Linked DNA regions of Homo sapiens: all the other regions are linked to region 3. The links are contacts of gene promoters, found by promoter capture Hi-C in blood cells and fetal thymus (Javierre and others, 2016). All regions are on one chromosome and are shown on one strand. The core of a region is centred on a gene start or on the middle of the fragment in contact, and the rest is flanking DNA. Distances in the headings are between cores, read along the strand shown.

Region 1 (2,700 bases), core at 123-2,622, 790 kb after region 3:
CCAATGGCAGAATGCAAGCTTCAACAGTCCAAAAGCATCTGTTAATCACCTCTGCGTACCAGGCCTGTGCCATGGCTGGAGGACATTACGAGATGGAAAATTCTGGAAGTGCTGACTGTGGGTAAAACAGGGAGGAGATTTGGAATGAGACCCTAGGGAGGATGGGCCAGACGCTGGGCTTCCCATATGTGATGGGGCAGGCTGAACCCCAGCACCTGTGGGCACCTTGATGGGTTTGAAGAGGCCAAGATGGACCCAGAGCCCAGTCTGGAAGGTAGTGGCTGGATTGTTCTGCAACATAAAGAGAGAAGAATCAGAAGGTCCAGAGAGAAAAGAGTGGAGAGGGAAGGGAGAGGAGAGAAGAGATTGCAAGATGGAGGAGACCAGGGACACGCAGAGGGGGACGCACCTGGGGGGATCCCCCAGAAGCGGGGGGACTTCGATTTGAAGTGGTTTGCATGGCTGCAGTGTCAGTGTCCCTCCCCTGCCAAGTCCCCAGGAACATCTGCTGGACCCACAGGGGTACTCAGTGTGTGGATATCAAGAAAGGAGCCGAGCTCCCCCTCAGTGCTGACATGAACAAGAACAGCCCTGGGCATGTCACCCAGTCCATCCCCAACTGCACTAAGCCAGCAGAAGCAAAAGGTCAAAGCCAGAGGGGTCCAGGAGAACACTGGCAGCCCCCCAAGATTGCTGCATCCCTAGGAATCTGGGCAGGAAGTGTGGGGGTGGAGCTGGCTTATGTAGCTGAGAAGCAGGGAGCCCCTGGGCCCGGCTGCAGGTGTCCACTTCTTCTATCAGCCCACTTAACCCCCAGCAGTCCTAGGTGACAGGGATCATGCAGCTCCACTTACACTCGGGAGAACCAGAATCCGGAGAAATTAAGTAAATTGCCCAGAGTCACACAGCTAATAAGTAGCATAAACAGGATTCTATGCCAGAGTGCATGTGTGTGCGCATGTGTGTGTGTGTGAGAGAGAGAGAGAGAGAATCTATCTCTGCCCAGGACAAAAGCCTATCTATCTGCCCAGGACAAAAGCCTGGAGTGGGGGCAGAGCATAGCTGGGGACAGACCCCAGGAACCTCAAGTTCCTGCCAGGTCGGAGGTCCCTGACTCTCAACCAAAACAGGTAGCTGATGCCTGAGGAGCTTCCTGGACAGGGCTCAGAGAATCCAGTCTCTACTAACAATACAGAAATTAGCCGGGCGTGGCAGCATGCGCCTGTAATCCTAGCTACTCGGGAGGCTGAGGCAGGAGAATTGCTTGAGCCCAGGAGGCAGAGTTTGCAGTGAGCCAAGATCGCGCCACTATACTCCAGCCTGGGCAATAGAGCGAGACTCCATGTCAAAAAAGGAAAAAAGAAAGAAATTGAGTTCAAGAGAGCTGGTGTGACAACAGTTACACGCCAGGCCATCACTCAGTGATGTTTATTGACCACCTACTAAGTGCCACGTGTCAGGTATACAGAAACAGATGAACCCCAGCCCTGTGGGGAGAAGCCACATCTGGACAACCTGGATTTAAGCTCGGAAGAAAGGAGCTGGGAGCCCCCAGGAGGAAACGATATTTTCTGGGGTCAGACCAGGAGGGCCAAAGAAGGCTCCACAAAGGGAGAGACAGTGAAGGCCTAGAAGGGACAACAGGCAGTGGGCAGATCTGAGTTTTCCTAGCCAAGTATTGGAGGAAGGGCATCTCAAGCCAAGGGACAGCAGGAGCAAAGGCCCGGAGAGCATCAGGTTAAAAAAGACATGGGGGTCTGGGCGCAGTGGCTCACCCCTGTAATCCCAGCACTTTGGGAGGCTGAGGCAGGTGGATCATCTGAGGTCAGGAGTTCGAGACCAGCCTGGCCAGCTTGGTGAAACCCCGCCTCTACTAAAAATACAAAAATTAGTCAGGCAGGGTGGCAGGCGCCTGTAATCCCAGCTACTCGGGAGGCTGAGGCAGGAGAATCTCTTGAACCCAGGAGGCGGCAACCTAGGTTGCAGTAAGCTGAGATCATGCCATTGCACTCTAGCCTGGGCGACAGAGCAAGACTATCTCAAAAAAAAAAAAAAAAGAAAGAAAGAAAGAAAAGAAAATGACACTGGGGAAGAGGTGGAAGAGGGACCGGAAAGCCCAGCTTAGGAGCGACGGAGCCAGAGAGGAGAGTGGACGATGAAAAGAGGAAAAATCACCTTGAGGTGCAGGGGGTGGGGACCCTCTGCCCCTGCTGGCTTCTGTCCACCTCTGTCTCTGTCTCTTTGGGCGTCTCTCTCCTGCTTCCTGTTTCCCTTGCCTGGCTCCCTTCCTCCTTGGCGTTTCTCTGTCTTACCCTTTCTCTGGCTCTCTCCATGCCCCTCTGTCTCTCTGTCTCCCTAACTCTTCCTGTCTGTCTCTTGCTCTCCCGTCTCCCCGCTGTGTGTGTGTATGTACATCTCTCACGCACGTGTGCCCTCACACTCTTCCTTTCTGCCACTCCTGCTGCTTGGAGATAGAATAATAGAGCAGGCAACTATCCCTTTTATCCTCAGCTGGACAAAGTCCCGGCACCCGGGCAGTCAGGCTTCCAGGCAAACACCCTCAATGTCGCCATCAAGGAGAGACCATGAGGCCTGTGTGGTGGGAGTGGGTCTCAGGCTGGAGGCGCTGTAGTTGGCCAGGTCATTACTGTAAGCCTGGGCCCTGCCCTGTGGTCTTTCAAGCCCTGATGGCTTAGGATG
Region 2 (2,700 bases), core at 23-2,522, 810 kb after region 3:
TAGAACAGCACAAATGCTTGAGTTTGTGTTGGTTGTTATTATTACTCTCTAGCCGATGGAGCTTAAACGGTGTGGTCTATCCCGGAGGACGAACTCCAGGTCCCACACTCTGTGGTGTCAAGTACACAGAAGGCCCTCAGAACCCGGCTGAGTGAACCCAGTGGTCCCTTCTGATTCACCGTTCACTTATTGCGTGTCTTCTCCATGCCAGGTGCTGGGCTGCCAGCTGCAGATGGAGCAGCGAACAAGCCCAGGGCTCCTCCCCCAGGTAAGCAGTGTCACTTCTAGGCCAGAGGGGCTCAAATGTTTTGGTCTAAGAAGCTTCTTACATTTAAAACTTCAGAATCCCCTCACTCCTGTAATCCCAGCACTTTGGGAGGCTGAGGTGGGCGGATCACTTGAGGTCCGGAGTTCAAGACCAGCCTGGCCAACATGGCAAAACCCCGTCTCTACTAAAAATTTTTTAAAAAGAAAATTAGCCGGCCGTGGTGGCGGGCGTCTGTAATCTCAGTTACTCGGGAGGCTAAGGCAAAAGAATCGCTTGAACCCGGGAGGCGGAAGTTGCAGTGAGCCGAGATCGCTGCACTCCAGCCTGGGCGACAGAGCGAGATTCCGTCTCAAAAAAAAAATTAATTTAATTAAATAAAATAAATTTTAAAAAATTCAGGATCCCAAAGAACTTTTGTATGTAGGCAACTGATATTTGCCATACTAGAAACTAAAACAAAAATTTTACATATTCATTAATTCACTTAAAATGACAATAAACCCATTGCTTGGTAACATAAACAACGTATTTTATGAGAAATAATTGTAGTTTTCAAAACAAAGATATGTCTTTAATGTCTGGCTTAAGGGAAGACAACTGGATTCTCATGCTGCACTCAACCTGTGCGATACCTAGTGCTGGTTGAAGTATATGAAAAACACTCCGCCCTGTCCCCATCCTAGCCCGCCACGGAGCCACGAGACCCGAGAGGATTGGCCAACCCGGCGGAGCAGGTTGCGGACGGCTTCCGGGGAAGGAGGGGACTGAGCGCCAGGAGCCAGGTAGATTGGGATTGAGTAACACATGTGTCTTTCTGCGCCTTGGACCCGCCTCCAGTTTCCGCCCCTTCTTCCGCTCAAGTGTAAACCCCTAACGCATGCGTCCTAAGAAAGATGGGCACTTCCGCCCATCCCCCTCCGGATCCCTCTGTTCGGGCTCGGGTTTCCGCCGAGACGACAGGGACTGCCAGGTCGGAAGTAGTGTGAGGCTCGTGGGCGGAGCCAAGCGCCGCCATGTCCGCCGCCCTGCTGCGGCGGGGCCTGGAGCTGCTGGCGGCGTCCGAGGGTGAGGAGGGCTGGCCAGGGGACGTCCGGCGCGGGCAGGAGGATGGTAGTGGCTGCGGGCGGGAGCCCTGGATGGAAAACAATCCAGGCCGGGCTTAGCCCCAGTGGCATGGGAACGCTGCGCGCCCTCTGACCTGGGTCTCTTCCTCTCTCTTCCCCTACAGCCCCCCGGGACCCTCCAGGTCAGGCCAAGCCGAGAGGGGCTCCGGTGAAACGGCCCCGGAAGACGAAGGCAATTCAGGCCCAGAAACTGCGGAACTCGGCCAAGGGAAAGGTGCCCAAGTCGGCACTGGGTAAGTTCGGGAAGGGGCTGAAAGTGCTGCCTCCGGTGCTGGGACCTGCGCCCCAGAGGAGGTGGCGCTTGAGGCAGGGCTTGAAGCGTTCGCCCGGTATTGCTAGACCTACTGTGTGCCAGGCGCGGAGCGGGGCCCTGGACATACGAAGGTGACAGAACACGCCACCGTCCTGGTCCTCGTGGACTACGGCCCTAGTGGGGAGAGAAGCATCAAAGAATATCAAACCCAGTGTGTCATTGCTAAGTGCATTGAAGCCTATGAATTAAAAGACTACGGTACTCTGATGGGGACTTAGGCCAAGTCAGCCTTCTCTGAGGAAGCGACATTTCAGCCGAGAGCTGAAGGATGTATAAGAGTGAGCTAGGTGAAAAGTAGGAGAATATTCTAGGAAGAATAGTATGTGCAAAGGTCCTGAGTCAGAAAGGAGGTTGTTGCCTTTGAGAATTTGAAAAAATAAAGGCTGGTAAAGGTGACCTAGTGAATGAGGATCAAAGATGGAGCATTTAAACACATTCACTAACACTCTGTACCAGGTGCTGATTCTAAGTGCTGTACAAATGTAAGCTCGTTTGATCCTTACAGCAGCCCTTTGAGGTCGATACTACTATCACCCCCGTTTTACAGATTCAGAAAAAGGCACCTGCCCAGGTGGTACAGGCATTGTGGCTGCCCGGGCATTGTGTCTCCAGAGTGCTGCTATTACCTACTCCATTGAAATAGGACATGCTGTGGCCTGGGCAGTGGCTATAGCAGCAGAGATAACAAGAGAATTGTGCAGGTGGAAAATATGTTAAAGAGGGGGCAGCAGAGAATTTCAGCCTTTAGAGGGGTTTTAGTGGTGAATTGGCTGTGAAGGTGGAGCCTAGTTTCTTGGGGGACGTAGTGTCACTTAATAGACATAAAGACTTTCGGAGGGGCTGGTGTAGGCAAGATGGTGATATTTTGACATGTGTCAGGACGTGGCAAGCTCTTACTGTGTCTGAATCCCTAGAGTCTAATGCATAAAAGATGTTAAAGTATTTGTTAAAAGAATTATGAATTCCAAGGAGGAAATACAACTTAAGCCAAAGTC
Region 3 (2,700 bases), core at 45-2,544:
GTCATAGTATTTCATACCTACTCTTCAGGGTTGTTTGGAGGATTAATAAGCAACCATGTGTAAAGGGTTAAGACCTGGGTCTCAGAAGGCACTATCTGAATGTCTGCTATTATTGTAGTGTATCGCCCAATATTTTGGAGGGCAGTGATAAGGGGAGGGAGGGAATCTAGAATGAAAGTTTCCTGTTTGGAGAGTTCCATGGTACAGGTCCTAGGCCCGAAGTCAAATTGTTTCCATGTTTACTGTGCCGTTTGAGAGGGCATTGCCAACTTGCTCGTTGTGGCACTTTCCTCTGAAACTTGAGGAGAAACATTATCGCTCTCTGGATCACCTTCAGTTTGCTTCAACTCTTCTGGAGCTATTTCTGAAACCGCTGGGCTAAGAAGTTCTCTATGCAGCCCTTAGAAAAGAAATTATAAACCCCGTTTAATAAACCCCTACCCGGAGTCTTCTCCTAAGAGGCAAAGCGGAGGCCAGTGAGGCAGAAACGGTGGCCTAGAAAACAAGCATTCCAGTCCTGTCACTAACTACACAGGCACTGTGGAAAACCAAGGGGCTACGTGCTCAGCTCAGGCTCTGGAGTGCACCCAGGTTCAAATCCCAGTTCCGTTCTTAATAGCTGGATGGGCTAGGGCAAACAACAAGCTGTCCGGGCTTTGTTCTCCCCTGCAATGTGGGAAAAACACCATCAAGCCTGCAAGATCTTCATGGATTACACAAGAAAAGATTAGTGAAATAATGAGCACAACAGTACGAAACAAGCGCTCGGTGTCTGTGGTTAGCAGCGTACTCCTGCGGGGATGGCCAAAATGAATTCCCTGAAACTACAGGCTGAATTTCTCCCAGCCTCCTCCGCGTCTCGAACCCTCTCGGACTGAGAACACGTGAGGCAACAGGTGGCGGCTCCCGGATCTCCTGCCCTTGCTTTCCTGGGGCCGCAGCTCCTCAGGACAGGGAACACCCAGCTGAAAATAGCCGGGCCGCAGCTCCGGGGTGGCTAAGCCCAGCCCGGAACAGAGCCCGGCACGTGCTGGGGCGGGCCCGTCCCTCCCGGCCCAGCCCCTCAGCCCGGGATCCGTTACCTGCTCGGCCTCCGCCAGCCACAGCCACAGCTGCCGCCATGTCCGGAATTTATACCTGTCGCTAAACACGAAGCACATCTCCGGGCTGGCATAGCGGGAGGCAAGAGGTGAGCGGTAGCTGTCGGGCGAACCATGATCGCCTCCAGCCGCCATCCCAACCCTGCGACCCCGCCAGGGTGGACTGGACCAGGGAAGAGCGGAAGCGGAAACCTGGAGGCCAGGGCAGGACGGGGCGGGGCGGGACTTCCTTCACGCGGTCTCGCTCTCTGGGTTCCGGGCGCCCTGGGCGCTGCCGGCTGCGGAGAATCTCCGCTGCTTCTGCCTGAGAATTGACTTGGTTCGCTTCTTTGACCAGAAACATGATTGATGCTTCCTACGTTACTTAGCCGCGCTACACTTTAGTTTTCCTGTCTGAAAAGAGGTACATTAAGACTTCCTTGGCCGGGCGCGGTGGCTCACGCTTGTAATCCCAGCACTGTGGGGGCCCCAGACCGGAGGATCGCTTGAGGCCGACAGATCGAGACCAGCCTGGGCAACACAGGGAGACCCTCCCGTCTCTAAAAAACAAAAAGCAAAAAAAAAAAAAAAAAAAAAGGCCTGCCTTTCGGGTTGTGCGGATTCAGTGTTAGAGCGGTGTCTGGCACACTTGGAAGGCCGTGTGTACGCTTGCTGTTACTCTTATTACTGTCGCCCCACCCACTCCTGCCCGCGGCGCACCGAGCTCGGCTCTAAGGAGAAATGAAGATACCCAAGGGAAATCGGCATTTACTGCGCCCCCAGTGAGCCGGCTGCGGTGGCCTACGCCTGTAATCCCAGCACTTCGGGAGGTCGAGGCAGGCAGATTTCCTGAGCTTAGGAGTTTGAGACCAGCCTGGGCAACACGTGAAACCCTGTCTCTACTAAAATACAAAAAATTAGTCGGGCATGGCGGCCTGTACCTGTAGTCTCAGCTACTTGTGAGGCTGAGACAGGAGAATTTCTTGAACCCGGAAGGCGGAGGTTGCAGTGAGCCAAGATCGCGCCACTGCACTCCAGCCTGGGCGACAGAGCGAGACTCCGTCTCCAAAAAATAAAAGAATTAAATAAATAAATAGAAATAGAAACACTCAAGTGGCCCCCCCCCTTTTTTTTTTTTTTGACAGGGTCTTGCTATGTTGTTCAGTCTGGAGTGCCAGTGGGGTGATCACACAGGAAAGGGTTCATCTGGAGCTGTAAGAGCCAGGTGTCTCAGCTGGGCACGGTGACTCACGCCTATAATCTCAGCACTTTGGAGGCTGAGCTGGGCAGATCGCTTGAGTCCAGGAGTTGGAGACCAGCCTGAGCAACATGATGAAACACTGTCTCTACAAAAAATACAAAAATTAACTGGGTATGGTGGTGTGCACCTGTAGTCCCAGCTACTTGGGAGGCTGAGGTGGGAGAATCACTTGAGCCCAGGATGTTGAGGCTGCAGTAAGCCATGATTTTGCCACTACAGCTTAGGCAACAGTGAGACCCTGTCTCAAAAACAAAACAAACGAAAAGAGCCGGGTGCCTGCACCCTCTCCACCTGCACTTAACTCCTAGCTCTCTGCCTTTTACGTGAGGAATCTAAAGACACTCAAGCCAGGTGTGGTGG

Evidence for each region. The method cuts DNA at HindIII sites, captures the fragments that hold promoters and counts their contacts. A CHiCAGO score of 5 or more calls a contact.
Region 1: a fragment that was not itself captured here is called in contact with the fragment with the promoter of ADSL in region 3 in 1 of 17 cell types (erythroblasts); the score reaches 6.1 in erythroblasts.
Region 2: a contact is called between the fragment with the promoter of RPS19BP1 here and the fragment with the promoter of ADSL in region 3, in 4 of 17 cell types (megakaryocytes, non-activated CD4 T cells, naive CD4 T cells and 1 more). The highest score is 6.4, in megakaryocytes.

Annotation. Positions count from the first base shown.
Region 1 is chr22:39,550,543-39,553,242 of GRCh38, reverse strand. No RefSeq gene overlaps it. Among named protein-coding and RNA genes, the nearest start is that of CACNA1I, 19 kb to the left of the region's middle. The HindIII fragment of the contact is 2,704 bases long and covers 21-2,700 here.
Region 2 is chr22:39,531,320-39,534,019 of GRCh38, reverse strand. RPS19BP1 (ribosomal protein S19 binding protein 1) reads left to right here and starts at 1,272. Exons shown (of 4, transcript NM_194326.4): 1 at 1,272-1,333; 2 at 1,497-1,625. The coding sequence starts at 1,282. RefSeq lists enhancers at 1,078-1,127, 1,178-1,237, 1,027-1,542, 1,543-2,058 and silencers at 1,348-1,507, 1,688-1,817. The HindIII fragment of the contact is 8,920 bases long and covers 324-2,700 here.
Region 3 is chr22:40,345,094-40,347,793 of GRCh38, reverse strand. ADSL (adenylosuccinate lyase) reads right to left here and starts at 1,294. Exons shown (of 13, transcript NM_000026.4): 1 at 1,083-1,294. The coding sequence starts at 1,235. RefSeq lists enhancers at 239-751, 752-1,265, 1,266-1,779 and a silencer at 952-1,041. The HindIII fragment of the contact is 11,540 bases long and covers 1-2,700 here.